Linked DNA regions of Homo sapiens: region 1 is linked to region 2. Evidence: promoter capture Hi-C in human tissues and cell types (Jung and others, 2019). All regions are on one chromosome and are shown on one strand. The core of a region is centred on a gene start or on the middle of the fragment in contact, and the rest is flanking DNA. Distances in the headings are between cores, read along the strand shown. Region 1 overlaps DNAI1 (dynein axonemal intermediate chain 1). Region 2 holds the start of ARID3C (AT-rich interaction domain 3C).

Region 1 (6,792 bases), core at 4,293-6,792, 130 kb before region 2:
GGAATCTGGGGGCTGGTTTTCAGCACCTCGGAGAGTTCCCATGGCTGCTCTCGGGGAAGTGGTTCTGCTCCACTCCAGAATTGAAGCTGGACCAGATAAAGGAAGTGCTGCTTCCTATGCCTGAGATGTGTCCACTCTCGCTTAATTCTGTTTCATTATCCTGATCATGTCACATTTTAGGGGAAGTTTGAGGGTACCCTGCCTTGGCTTTATAGGAACTGTCCCAATGCTGTTTTATTCAGTCACTGACCAAGTACCTAGTGATCATGGCCGTGCGGGTACTGGAACTCTGAGGTGAAAGATGGAGCCCCTGCCCTGCTACTCTGTGCAGACCCTTGGCTTCCCCTGATCCATTCTCTAGAGGTTAGAGGCTTCACAGGGGCCACTGGCCTAGGTCAGGGTTCACATGAAGATCCATCAGGGGTTATAAGCTCTGTACTGGGACCCATGGTTGCAGAAACCTCAACTATAATCACCAGGATCTAGAAACCAGAAGAAAAGTCCCTGTGACTGAGACTAGAATCTGACCTGTGTCTTCTAAGCCTTGCAGAGTTGGTGTCTAACATCCTCAGGGATGAGGGACCATCTCTCTCCATCACACTGGACTCTTCCAGCTTAGCTGACTTGGAAGACTATGGTACAAGCAGATTCCAGCCCTCTGGACCAAGAGTCCACATGGGAGGCAGGACACCCTCCCCCAGCCCCACCTAGTGAATGCCTTGGTGTGCACCCTCTCCCCAAGGCAATAATTAGAAATCCCAAGTACTGGGCCAGGCTGTCTGTGCAACACAGTGGGAAAGGCAGTCACCTTCCCCATTGCCCAGGCCCAGTGGTTGAACAGAGTGACACCCCTTCCTCAAAGAATGGGGTCTGATTATGTGGGTAGAAAACTCAAATGTGCTGGAGGGGAGAAAAGATAAAAACTTCATGATATCCTATAGGAAGGGCCTCCTTGGTGGACCTCAGGTCTCTGTCTCATTAGTGATTTGAGTGAATGCACAGAAATCAATGCACATTTGTCTGATCTGAATAATTAGGTAGGAAAGGAGGAAAGGGCTCACAGGCTGCAAGTTCAGTGAGAACTAATAAAGATGTGTGGCTGCTCCAGTAGCATAGTATCTGGGACAAGGGAGGTGACAGCCCACAACACTCTCCTCAGAACACAACTGGAAACCTGCATCTCCCAGGGCCAGGAGAGGAGTGGTCAGACTGGGGAGGCACTGGCTCACTGTGTGGGTCTGAGAGCATGGACCCTGGAACCTACAGACCTGGATTTATATCCTGGCTTTGCCATTTGTTAGCTCAGTTTTTCTGAAACCTCAGTTTCTTCATCTGTAAAGATACCCTAATGATACCTACTTTGCAAGATTTTCATGAGAACCCAAGATAATACGGTGCAGCCCCTAACATAACACTTTTGTGCTACTGATCAATAAATGGTAGCTATTGTTATTGATATGCCATTTCATGACTGATGGAGCTGGGAGGAGTCACCCGAGGAAGTGCTGACTTGAGGGCATGTGGCTGTGTCCTCCTACCTCAAAGGAGCTCTCACCAAGCATCCAATTCCTTGTGGCCAGAGGACAGAGTTGGGCCCATAGGTAGAAGATGCAGGGAGGGAGTTTCAGTTAACTGGCTATCTGGCCACAGAAAACACTGCCTGACCTGGGGAGAGTCACACTTACCAGGAAGCTGCTAAGGGGAGAGGATTCCTGCTCTGGGTCAGAGAATAGAGAGCGTAGCTGGAACCAGGTGAACTCTGAGGTCCGTGACTGCAAGACTCCAGTGAATGCCCTTCTTGGTCAGTTTTCAAAGATAAACTTGGAGTCTCTTTCAGGCGTGGCAAAAGGTCCTCAAAGGTCAGTTCCCCAGAAGTGACTTCATAACCCTTCGCTGCACTACTCTGCATGTTTCCTCTGACACCATCACCACCGGGAACTGGGTTAGACACTAACATGTATTATCACATTTCACCATCACAATGACCTGATGAGGCAGATGCCACCATCCGCCCCCACTTACCAGGAGGAGTCTAAGACTCAGAGAAGCTAAATAACTTGCCAGAGGTTGCCACCGGGTTCTAATTTTGGTGGGATGGGATAGGAGTGCAGGTCTGTGCGGCTCTAGAACCCATCCTTTTAACCGCTACCTGACGCTGCTGTTTCTGAGACATCGAATCCTTGGGAGCCATGGGCCTGGCCCCCTGACCCTACCCTGGAGGGCTGCCCATTCAGCTGGCTCACTCCTGCCACCTGCCCTAAGCCCTCTGGGCCTTTCCTGTTAGTCCCAAACTCTTTGCTCTTCTGTCAACCTGCCAAGCACCTCATCTTGGGGATTTATGGAATTTCACACAATGGCAAGCTTCCTTTTGGTTCAAGATGAGTCACGTTTTCCTGAAGTTAAGCTTCCTGCTTTCTCATTGGTCTGGGCTGTGGGGAGGGCCTGGAATTAGGAGTCTCAGTTCTGCCTTGTACTCCATGTATGTAAGCATGTCTCTCCCCTCTTTGGGCCTTGGTGCCTTCCTCAGCCTGTAACTGAGTAAGGGATAAAACCACATGATCTTTGAGGCCTTTAATGGGAGTCTTTCACTCTCTGAGCTGGTAAAACTTTTCTGTCTCCACCAAAGAAGGCTCCAACCTGCCCTTGTCTGCTCTCCCCTGCAGACCCTTCCTGGGCTCTCTTCAATGCCCTGTCTTGTGCTCAGAGATAGGCCTTCTCCAAAACAAGTCCAGAATGAAAGCATGAAGCAGGTTCTACCCAGGGGCCAAGTATATCAGCTCAGACCCTTTGTGCCACTTGTGAGGTAGGAGTTCCTAGAAGAGGGTAGTGGCATGAGCTGGGCCTTGAGACATGCAGAGAAACCTTTACAGAGCTATCTGGGGTGAGTAGTGCCAGAGAGCTACTGCTGAATCAATTGCAAGGGTGACATGGCTCAGGACATATGACCTTGCTAAGTGCTGGTTTATGAGGACCTGAAGTTTCTGTATCCCCACAGACTGATGATCTCATCAAATTGTCCCAAGCTGCTAAGATCATGGAGCGGATGGTCAACCAGAATACATATGATGACATTGCTCAAGGTAAGAGTTGAAGTTCTGGCAACCACTATTATTGCCTGTATTAAAAATTTCTCATAAAAGCTTGGGTTATTTGGGTGTCTCTTGCTAGCTCCTATAGGTGCAAGCGGAGAAAAAATAATCCCTCTGTCCTCTGGATGTCACTGGGGAGACAAGACTTATGTGGATTAACCATGACTGATGGCATAAGAAACAATGTGTATACTGATGAGATCTGGAAGTGGTGCAGCAAAGAATACCTGCACATGGGTGATCCAATCTCATCTTCCTGATAACCCTGGGAGGCAGGCAGAGCAGAGACTTGCCCATACTGTACACATGAGGAAGCTAAGGCTAAGGCCACCTGACTAGTGAGTGGCAGAGAGGACCCAAATAGAGGTCTCGATCTTCCTCATTCTATGCTCTGTCCTCTACTCAGAGCACCTTGGGAATGCTATAAATGCCAGAATGTATGGGGTAGACAGAAACCACTCTGGGGATCCTCACATAGGAGAGAAGGAAAGTGAGGGATGAGTGGGAGTAGTTATGGAAGGCTTTGGAGAGGGCTTAGCTAGATGCCAAGGGAGAAGCAGAGTGTGTGAGAGAAGATAGCTACAGGGAGGATGTTCTGGACAGGGATGGCATGAGCAGTGTCTTGGCAGTGAAACCGAATAGGAATGGACTCTGGGGACAAGGGACAGCAGGCTCCCTGACCCAAACAGGATCTTCATTGAAAAGAGGTGAGAGTTCAGGCGGAAGAGGTTGTTGGAGCCCATTAATGAAGGGCCTTGAATATCATGCAAGGAATGTGACCTATCTCTGCAGACAGTTCAGAGAACTGAAACTTTCTAGGCAGGGACACAGCCCGATGAGAGCAAGGCTGGAGGAGGATGTGATTGTGTAGAATATAGGGCAGAGGTGGAGGTGAGGCTCAAATGTGGGGTGGAATGGGCCTTACCACACCTGACCTAGCCTGTGTCTTAAGGAATGGAGAAAAGGGAACAGTTATAATAGTGAGAAACAAGCTCCAGCATTCACTGGGAGTAGCCTGTGTGTCAGGCATTGTGCTATGCAATTTACATGTTATTATTTTGTTTGTTCCTGACAGCCACACTGTGAGGTGAATACCATTATTATCTCCATTTTATAGATGAGAAACTCAGGCTGGGATGTTGCCACTTTTTCAAAGTCACAGCTAGTGTGAAGTGTGAGTGGCAGAATCAGAACTCGAACACAGGCCCCTTGGATCCATCACCTAAGCACTTCGCCGCTAGGCTGCAAAGCCACTGAGCCGGAAGAGACATTTCAAATAAACACACTCAATAGATCTATCCTGGTGATTAATTAGTGATGAGTTGAAGAAAGAGATTGATTCAGAAATGCTTAAATCCTGGGGGCCTGGGAAATTCTGGTGTCTGACAGTGTCAGGGAAACAGAATCCTTCCCATGGCATGAACAGCACATTCCCAAGTGGCTTGTATTTCCCTAAGAGGTTGTGCATTTATTTGGAGCAGCTGCCTTCCCAGAGTTGGCAGCTCCTCGATGCTGGCTGGTCTCCTTTGCTGACAGCCTAGGGCTCTTCTTGGTGACTTGATGCTCATTGCTCACCCATGGGACACAGAAACCAGGGCTGCCAAAACCAGCCACCTAAACAAGCCCCCTCATTATCATTCAGGCTGGAAAACGACCTTGAGTGCTTTTCAAAGCTGTCAAAGTACACAACAGCTGTGAATGAGTTTGTCACTCACACAGCGTGGCTTCTTGAAACCCAGCCTCTGCAAGTGGCCCACCAAAGGGCTGCAAACCTGATTAATATCCATGGAGAAATTGGCCTTGGTGAACCACTTTCATTTATAAGAACACAGTCACATAAAAATGTATTGAACTTTGATTTTTTTAATTGCATACTCCTTTCCCTTTGGGAAAGTGTAATCATGAAGGAGACATGAAAATAGAGAAGTGTTACCAATTAATCTCTGCTCTGAATTGAAGTATTTTCAAAGATAACCCAAGCGGGGTAATCTCTGATGTAATCAAGGCTCACGCCTCTCTGACCACTTGAATCTTTTTTGTTCTGAGACATTTTTGAGGTTTGAGTGAAGTCCCACAACCTCAAGGTATGGGCACTATAGGAGATGTCAGGCCTGGGCATGTTCTTGGCTTCACTGAATGACAGGATTCATTTTCTAATTGGTCACCCTTTGTCTAAAGAAGATCAAGAACTACTTCACTTCTGTTAATGAATTTCACTGCATTCTTTAAACAGTTGTTGGTTGTCTGTTTTGTGGCTGGCCCTGTGCTAGGCACTGGGGACCCAGAGAATATATGTGTGTCCTGCTCTCCAGATATTGTCTGGTGGGGGAGAACAGGCAAAAGGATAGAGGCAATCTAGTGTGACAGATGTTTCAGTAGAGGAGAGGCAGGGCTGGAACAGAGGAAGAAATTAACTCTGCTCAAAAGAAAATGAAGGCCTTACAGATGAGAAAGAGTTTGATCTGGATCTGGAGTGAGTAGGAGTTTGCCAGGAAGAACAGGGCATCTTAGACATGGAAAACGATGTAGAAACACCCAAAACAGGAGACAACTGGACTCATTGGCATGATTTGATATGGAGGGGACACGGACAGCTGACTAGAAATAACGTGGATCTCCTCTTGGTTTAATCTCCTCTGCAAGGAGAGCCATTGAGGGGGTTTCAGTGGAGTGAGGAAAGGGGTGTCGTGAGGTGCCTTGTTTGTACTCACACTGGTTGTTCTGTGAAACAAGGGTTGGAGAAGGAGTTACTGGAGGTAGGAGACCAGTTAGAGGGATGTTGTCATAATACAGGTGATGGATGTTGGGGCCTGAACCTGGGCAGGGGCTATGGGTTTGGAGAGAAGCGAATGAATTAAAAAGATAGAAGAAAAATATGAGAAATTATGGAAACAGATCAGTCAAGGATTACTCATTTCTGGTTTAGACAAGTGGGAGGATGGGGCATCTATCTAACTTAAAGAAAGTGGAAGGCAGAGACAATTTTGTGGGCAGGAGATGAAGTTGGGTTCAGAGAACCCATGGGGGATCTAGGCAGCTTCATTATAGGGAGACTTGGCTGTGGATATGAAAATGGGCTGCATTTTAGGGATTTAGGAGGCAGAATTAATGGAACTATTAATCAGCCCTTGGCAGCTGAACCCTTGAAATTTGGCTCCTCCAAACAGAGCCTCCTGAAATGCTAGGGAAACACATGGGAACAAGGGCTGCGAACCTGGGATTTTATCCATGTAGACATGGCCGGTGTATTGTAATGTACCTCCAACAACAACGACAGTAACAATGGCTAACACATAGAGCTTACTATGTGCCAGGCATTTTTCTAAGCTCTTTGCATATATTAACTCAATTCATATATCCTCACAACAGAACTCTGAGATAGGTAGTAGTATTATTCCCACTCTAAAACAGAGGCTCATTGTTTTGCCCAAGGAGGTACAGACAGTAAGTGGTGGACCTGGGTTTGCCATAAAGCGGCAGTCCCAGGGCTGACTCTGCCTGTGTGTGTTTAAGATTTTAAGTACTATGACGATGCTGCTGATGAATACCGGGACCAGGTGGGTACCCTGCTGCCGCTCTGGAAGTTCCAAAATGACAAAGCCAAGCGCCTGTCCGTCACTGCCCTCTGCTGGTAAGTATAGGCATTGCAGCAAATGCAGAGCCCCTGAGTGCCCTCTACATCCCAAACCCCCAGTACCCCCTT
Region 2 (7,173 bases), core at 486-2,985:
CCCAGCCCCTAGACTGCCTTCCCTACACCTGGCTGGGCATGGTGGCTCATCCCTGTAATCTCAGCACTTTGGGAAGCTGAGGTGGGAGGATTACCTGAAGTCAAGAGTTCGAGACCGGCCTGGGCAATACAAGAAAACCTTGTCTTTACAAAAGAAATTTTAAAAAATTAGCCAGGCATCTGTCTTTCCCTCCCTGTCACTATCCTCCAATCTTCTCTCTGTCTTTCTATAGGTCTCCGTGTCTCTGTGTCTCTTTTCATCTTGCAGAGGGTGGTGGGGGTGGGTGGGCTGCTAATCACCTGGCTGTGCTTTTGCCAGAAGAGAGAGATAGGGAAGAGGGCCGGACATTGAGGGCATAGGTCCTACCTGCTTGAATTGTTCCTCGTAGGTCCACTCGTGGGGATGGAGTCCAGGGGGCTGGCTAGAAGGCGAGCTGGGGCCCTGGGCCCCTGGACGGCTCTCCTCAGCTGCCTCCTCCTCTGCCCCGGCTTCCTCCCGCTTCTCCTCATCTTCTTCAGCATCTTCCTCTTCCTCAGCCCCAACATTCCCCAAGGCCCCCTCAGGGGCCTGTAGGGTCCGGTGGTCAGGCAGGGGAGGCTGCGGTGGCAGCAGCGGGCATGCAGGGGCCAATGGCCCCACCCCCTGGGCCAGCCGAGCTGCCTGCTGCTTCTGCAGGGCCTCCATGACAGCTTCCAGGCGCAGTCCCCCAGCTGAGGGGGTCCCTGGTACCAGGCGGGACCCCGAGGAAAGGGCCGCCTGTGGGGGAGGGAATTATGGGTGCTGGGCCCTACTGCCCCCAGAGCCCCCCAACACAGGGGGAGGTGGTCATGGATTCAGGGAAGTGCAGGGGTCACAAGGAAAGAGGCAGAAAGATGGCTTTCCCAGAGGTGAACAGAAACAGGACCAGACCCGGGGAATCAAATGGCCATTGACTGAGGACTGGAAGAGTGAGCAGATCAGAGAGGGTGACGGGGACCAAGAGACATCGGGAAATGGTGAAGGAAGGGAGAGAGAAAGAAAAGGAGAAGGGGGATGTCCGACAGAGACAATGACAGGGAGATGTGAAAATAGAGATGGAACAGGGTGACAAGGAGAGACAGAAGTGGGGTGACACAGAGACTGAGAGGGACCAAGATGGAGAGAGGCAGAGGTATCAGGCAGAGACAGGGTAGACAGACAGAGATGGAGAGAGATAGAATATTGGGTAGAGAGACAGGGAGGGTAAGAGAGGTAGAGGAGCAACAGATAAAAGACCTAAGTGACAGGTAGCTCAGAGACGGACAGAGACGGAGAGACAGAGGCGGAGATAGACAAATAGACAGGGGTTGAGATATAGGGAAAGACCAAGACAGCAGGAAACGGACAGAAGAGAGAGATTAGAAAGAGACAGTTAAATAGAGAGGGACCGACAGAGACAGGGACGGGAAAAACAGCCGGAGAGAGGGGCAGAGGACAGGGACCAAGGAGTCGCGGGGATGGAGGGCGGTGGGGCAGAGCCTGGGACGGGCACGGGACCGGACGGGCAGGAGGCGGCAGAGTCGCGACGCCCGGCTCCCTCGCTCCGGGCGCCCCGCGGCCGCACTCACCTGCCTGGCGTGGCCCGCTGCCCCTGGCGTCTCCACGGCGCTGCCTTTGCTCCGCCCGCCTCCCAGGCGGCCCTGGCCTCGGCTGGGTCCCGGCGGTGCGCTCCCGCCGCCCTGTGCTCCTCTGGCGGCTGTGCGCTCACTCGCCGCGCTGCTTGCGGCGGCCGCGGGGGCGGGACCCGAGCGGGGCAGGGCGGGCGGGGCGCATGGGGAGAGGCCCCTGTGGGATCTGCCGCTCTCAGCTCCCCAACAGGTGTCTCCCACCTTCTTTCCAGCCAGCTTCGGGGGCAGGGGGCGCTGGAAAGCTGCGGGGGAATCGTGCGAAAATGAGGGCTCTACCGCCACCGGACTCCGGACCAGAGCCCCGCCCAGCCTCACAAGTCGTGCCCCCGACACCCACACTCGGCACTGGGCTTCCACATACAAATAGCCGCATCCACACACCAACACACCTTGTCACAAGTTCAGGCGCATAGCTTCCCAGTCTCACACGTTCCGTGACATGGTCACCACAGTGCCAATGGCCTGGGCACGCTGTGATCAAGAGGGGAATCCCTCTGCAAGATGCTGGGGTGTGCGTGGAGGGTCTGGTCAGAATAGAAGCTTCTCCCTTTGCCTTGAGCACCCCTGCCCTGCCTACGTGCTGTCCCCCACTGCGGGCATGCTGCGGTTTGCACACATGAGTGCACATGGTGGTGGACCCACACCTATGCACTCACACACTCTCAGAGGTCTTTAAGCTGACTGCACACTCACCGCATGCAGATACACAGCCACACACAGTTTTTGTCTCTTTTGACATTCTATTATGGAAATTTTCTTTTCTTTTCTTTTTCTTTCTTTTCTTTTTTTTCTTTTTTGGAGACAGAGTCTCTGTCACCCAGGCTGGAGTGCAGTGGCGCGATCTGGGCTCACTGCAGCCTCCGCCTCCCAGGTTCAAGTGATTCTACTGCCTCAGCCTCCCGAATAGCTGGAATTAGCTGGGATTACAGGCGTCCACCACCAGACCCGGCTAATTTTTGTCTTTTTAGTAGAGATGGGGTTTCACCATTTTGGCTAGGCTGGTCTCGAACTCCTGACCTCAAGTGATCCACCCACCCTGGCCACCCACAGTGCTGGGATTACAGGCATGAGCTACCGTACCCAGCCTGTATTATGAAAATTTTGAAACATAGACAAGTGAATAGTATAATGAACCTCTGGTACTCATCATAGGTTTGTTTCAACAGTGACCGGCACTTCGCCCATGTTCACACACATTCTCCACCTATGTGTGCCTGACTGCCACATCTGTATCTCCAGACCCCCTCAGCCCACTGCTTTGCGCCCTCCCCCTAACTATTCCCAAGACGCTGAAATGCTGTTCCTTATTTGGGGGTTCTGAGTGGCAGGCCTCTCAGAATTTCTGCTCTGAACAGCCTGGACCCCACTCCTCCCGGGAATCCTCATACTTCCTATTTCTTCCTGTGCCCAAGGGGACCACTTACCAAACAGAGGGACACTGTGAGGTGATGCCAAGTGTGTAAGTGAACAGCAGGTGTCTGTAGGGGTGACACTTGGCATAGGTATGAAACTGTGGCACCAGAGACTGTCTTCTGACCTCACACCCCCAGAAGGCAGGAATCCAAACACGACCTTTGTCTCCTCCCTCCTCCCTTGTCCTCTCCCAATCAGTCCACTCCTCTCAGCCTCAGCTTGCTCTGGCTCAAACCACCGGCTCTTCTGACCATGGTGGGTCTGACCATGGTGGGTGCCTCCTCCCTGCTCTCCCTGCCTCCAGCCGCCACCCTTCTCTGCACCCTTCTGTGCCCAGCTTCTACTGCAGCACTAAGTCCTGGTTCTCTATGGCCCATTCCTGGCCACGCTGAGGCTCACCCCATTCATTCCTTTGGCTGCCCCAGTGTCCTCCACCTCAGATTTCAGACCTCTGAGCCCATCAGAACCCCCCAGCCTCCAGAAGCTCCAGTGATCCAATCACTGTCGGTACTGATGCCTCCTCCCCCATGGCTTTGTTTGGTGTGAGTATCCTGGGGCAGAGCCAAGCCTCCTCCTCTGCCCAACCCTCCCTGATGCTGGGAGGGGAGAATCAGTGAATGTGCCAGGCAGACAGACATGCCCTGGAAGTCTACTGGAAGACTGGAGAGCAGAGGGTAGCAATCCACAGAACCCTTGTGCCCTGCTTGCTCCCTTTTCCCCACCACAGCTTCCCCTGGCTGCTCAGAGGAGGTCCATGGACAAAGGTAGGTGGCCAGAGTCTTCCTAGAAAGGTAGGAATTGGCTTGGGGAAATTCCAGTTCTGAGTGTTTGGAGATCGCTTTGTAGGGTTTGGGTTGAATGGTAAGGGGCTGGGCAGTCACTCCCCCAGCTCCCAAATCAATCAAGCAAAGTTAATCCACTTTTGGGGTCTGGGCCAGGAGGGCTACAACTGGGAAGGGCTGAGGGGAAGGAATATGCTTGACTGGGACTTGGTTTATCTCTCTTCATCTGTGAAAAGGAAAGGCTGCCTCTCATACCCGCAGTCTGGTCTTATACCTCACAGAGACGGAGACAGACCTAGACCTTCAGAGACCCATGCTTCATTCATCCAACACATATTTATTATCTATTTTTTTTGCCAGGCACTGTTGGACACAGGAGCAAATAAGACAAAGTCCTTATTATAATGGTACAATTCTAAGTGGGGGAAATATACAGTGTGTCAGATAGTGGTAAGTACCATGGAGAAAAATGTAGCTGGGTTGGGGGGAACATAAAAGGGGGCATTAGTTACCTATTGCTGTGTAACAAATCACCCCATAATTTAGCAGCTTAAAACAAAAACATTTATTTTCTCACAATTCTGTGGGTCTGGATGGTTCTGACTCATTGTCCTCTAAGGTGTTGTAGTAAAAAGGTTGGCCAGGGATGCAGTCATCTGAAGGCTTGACTGGAACTGGAGGATCTACTTCCAAAATGGCTCACTTGCATGGCCCTTGGCAGGGGGCCTGTTCCCCCCGCAATATGGGCCTCTCCATAGGATTGCTTGTATGTCCTCTCAACATGGCAGTTGGTTTCCCCCAGAATGATCCAAGAGAGACTCTTTAGACAGCAATGCTTTTTATGGCCTAGTCCTAGAAGTCACACACTGTTATTTATGCCACATTATTTGTGAAAGTACATAATTAAGTCTAGTCCACTCAAGGGGAAGGAATTTAGGCTTCACCTCTTGAAGGACAGAGCATCAAAAATTTTGTGAAGGTATTTCAAATCACCATGCAAGAGATACTATTATATAAGTGTTGAAGAACTCAGTGAGCAGGAATTGAAGGAGGGGAGGAAGAGAGCTATGACTACGTGGATACCTAGGGACGAGCACTACGGTCAGAATAGCAGGTACAAATATCCTGGGATAGAATTTTGCTTGATGTGTTGGAAGAAAAGCAAGGAGGCCACTGGGTTGGAATAGGGGGGCTGAAGGGGTGAGTGGTTGGAATGTCTGATCAGAGGAAACATGGGCCTTGGAGTAGGCCCTTGTAAGGAGTGAAAGGACAGAATGAGATGGAAAGCCACTGGTTAGGTCTCAGCAGAGAGTGAAAGTCTGACTGGCTGCTGCGTGGAGAACCCTCCACACAAGATGCATGCGTGAAGATCAGTTAGGGGGCCATTGCAATAGTCTATAGGCAAGAGATGATGGTGTCTTAGACCAGGGTGGGGGCAGTGGAGGTGAGAAGGCATGATTAGAGTCTGGATATATTCTGCAGATAAAAACAGTATTTGATGATGGATTGGATGTGGGACATGAGAGAAACAGATGTGTCCAAAATGACTCTGGGCAGCTGGGTAAATGGAGGTGCCCTTAATTCACAGTAAAGACTACAGGATGGTGGTGGTGTGGGGCTGGGAGAGAATTCGGTTTGCTTTGGATATCTCAAGTCTGAGATACCTATTAGACAGCCAAGTGGAGATGTTGAGTAGAGATGAAGGCAGTAAGATTTCCAACTCTGGTGCTCAGGGCAGAGATTTAGGCTGAGACAAAAATTTAGAAGTCAAGATATATAGATGGTAAAGTCACAGAATCACCTGGGAAGGGGTGTAAACAGAAGAGGTTTGAGGACTAAGCCCAAGAAAGTCAGAGAATGAGGAGATAGGAATCCAGTAGCTGGGTGCAGTGGCTCACACCTGTAATCCCAGCACTTTGTAAGGCCAACATGGGCGGATTACTTGAGGTCAGGAGTTTGAGGCCAGCCTGGCCAACGTGGTGAAACTCTTGTCTCTACTAAAAAAAAAAAAAAAAAAAATTCCAGTAAAGGAGGCAATTAAGGAGGAGTAGTGTCCCAGAAACTAAGAGTGCCTTCAGAGTGATTACCCTGTGTCAAATGAAAGCTAAGAACTATGAAACGACCAACGGATTTAGCAGCAGAGATTAGGAGGGGCCTGGGAGCCTAGTCCTTTGTGGACGTTTGGGAGGAATGACAGGGCAAGCTGGGTCATCCCTGACATGTGGGCTCTGAGCCTAGAGGCAGAGCTGGGTTACAGAGTAGGAATCCCCCAGGAGGCATGGATTTGCAACCTGGGGTGAGTGGAGAGGAGCCAGCCAGGGCCTACTATGCCTGACACGGTGGTATTGGGGGTGAAGAGTCGGTTTCAGGTTGGCCAACTTACCTGGACTCCACATTCAGTCACAAATTGACTTTTGATGTTGTTTCTAAATGCAGTTATACATATAGTCTTTCGGATTTGTGTTCTTTAGAATGTTAAAATATCTAATTTTTATAACCATGTTTCTTCCATTTTTAAAATACCAGGAATCCTGAGAAGCAGGAGTGATCTATGCCTTACCCTCAGAACAGGGCCAGGACGAGGGTGAGGCATGCTTGGTGTGTAAAATGCAGAAGTTAAGGCAAGAGCAGGGTCTTTGGGAATGAATGCACTTTAGGCACCTCTCTTGCCTTACCTGAGTCCAGGCCCTACCTACCTCACATACTGCCAGGTAGTGTGCCTTCCTTTCATTGTGGGAGCCTCCACATTAGTGGTGGGTCCTGGAGAAGGCAGACCATAGACTGGAGGATCTCCTGTTTTGGGTGGGGGCAGACACTACTCTGGGAGCCCAGAAAAAAAGCCAACTGAGAACTATGCCTTTCAGCTAAAAAGTGGGTGCACACTGCCACCCTGTGGTCAGCCAGGGGAAGATTCTTAGGACTGTTCCCAGGATTGCACCGGCAGAGGTAAGACCAAGACACACTCCAGGTCACCCTGCCCTGAATTTCTCAAATTGTGGCATTCGCAGCTGTGTTGGAAGAAATCTTATTGAACATGTTGATCTCTGGCAATGGAGCTCAGTAGTCTGAGTTACTGACTCAAAGAGTGTCTTAGGTGATTCTAAGGCACACTCAAGTATATAGTCCCTACTAGTCAAAAGCCACTGTCTTGTCAGGCATGGTGGCTTGTTTCTGTTATCTCAGCTACTCTGGAGACTGAGGAAGGATCACTTGAGGCCAGGAGCTGGAGATCAGCCGGGGCAACATAGCAAGACCCCATTTCTAAAAAAAATTTAAAAAGCTAACCAGGCATGGTGGCATTTGCTACTCATAAGGTCCCAGCTACTCATAAG

Evidence for each region. The method cuts DNA at HindIII sites, captures the fragments that hold promoters and counts their contacts. A contact is called where the count stands out against the background at its distance.
Region 1: a contact is called between a fragment that was not itself captured here and the fragment with the promoter of ARID3C in region 2, in 3 of the 25 tissues and cell types used here (IMR-90 fibroblasts, hippocampus and spleen).

The regions. Positions count from the first base shown.
Region 1 is chr9:34,494,120-34,500,911 of GRCh38, forward strand. It overlaps DNAI1 (dynein axonemal intermediate chain 1), which reads left to right. Exons shown (of 20, transcript NM_012144.4): 10 at 2,996-3,080; 11 at 6,603-6,720. Among named protein-coding and RNA genes, the nearest start is that of ENHO, 25 kb to the right of the region's middle. RefSeq lists silencers at 1-126, 1-166. The HindIII fragment of the contact is 6,320 bases long and covers 2,383-6,792 here.
Region 2 is chr9:34,627,331-34,634,503 of GRCh38, forward strand. It overlaps ARID3C (AT-rich interaction domain 3C), which reads right to left and starts at 1,736. Exons shown (of 8, transcript NM_001017363.4): 1 at 1,587-1,736; 2 at 367-756. The coding sequence starts at 684. RefSeq lists silencers at 1,545-1,644, 1,695-1,854. The HindIII fragment of the contact is 10,650 bases long and covers 1-7,173 here.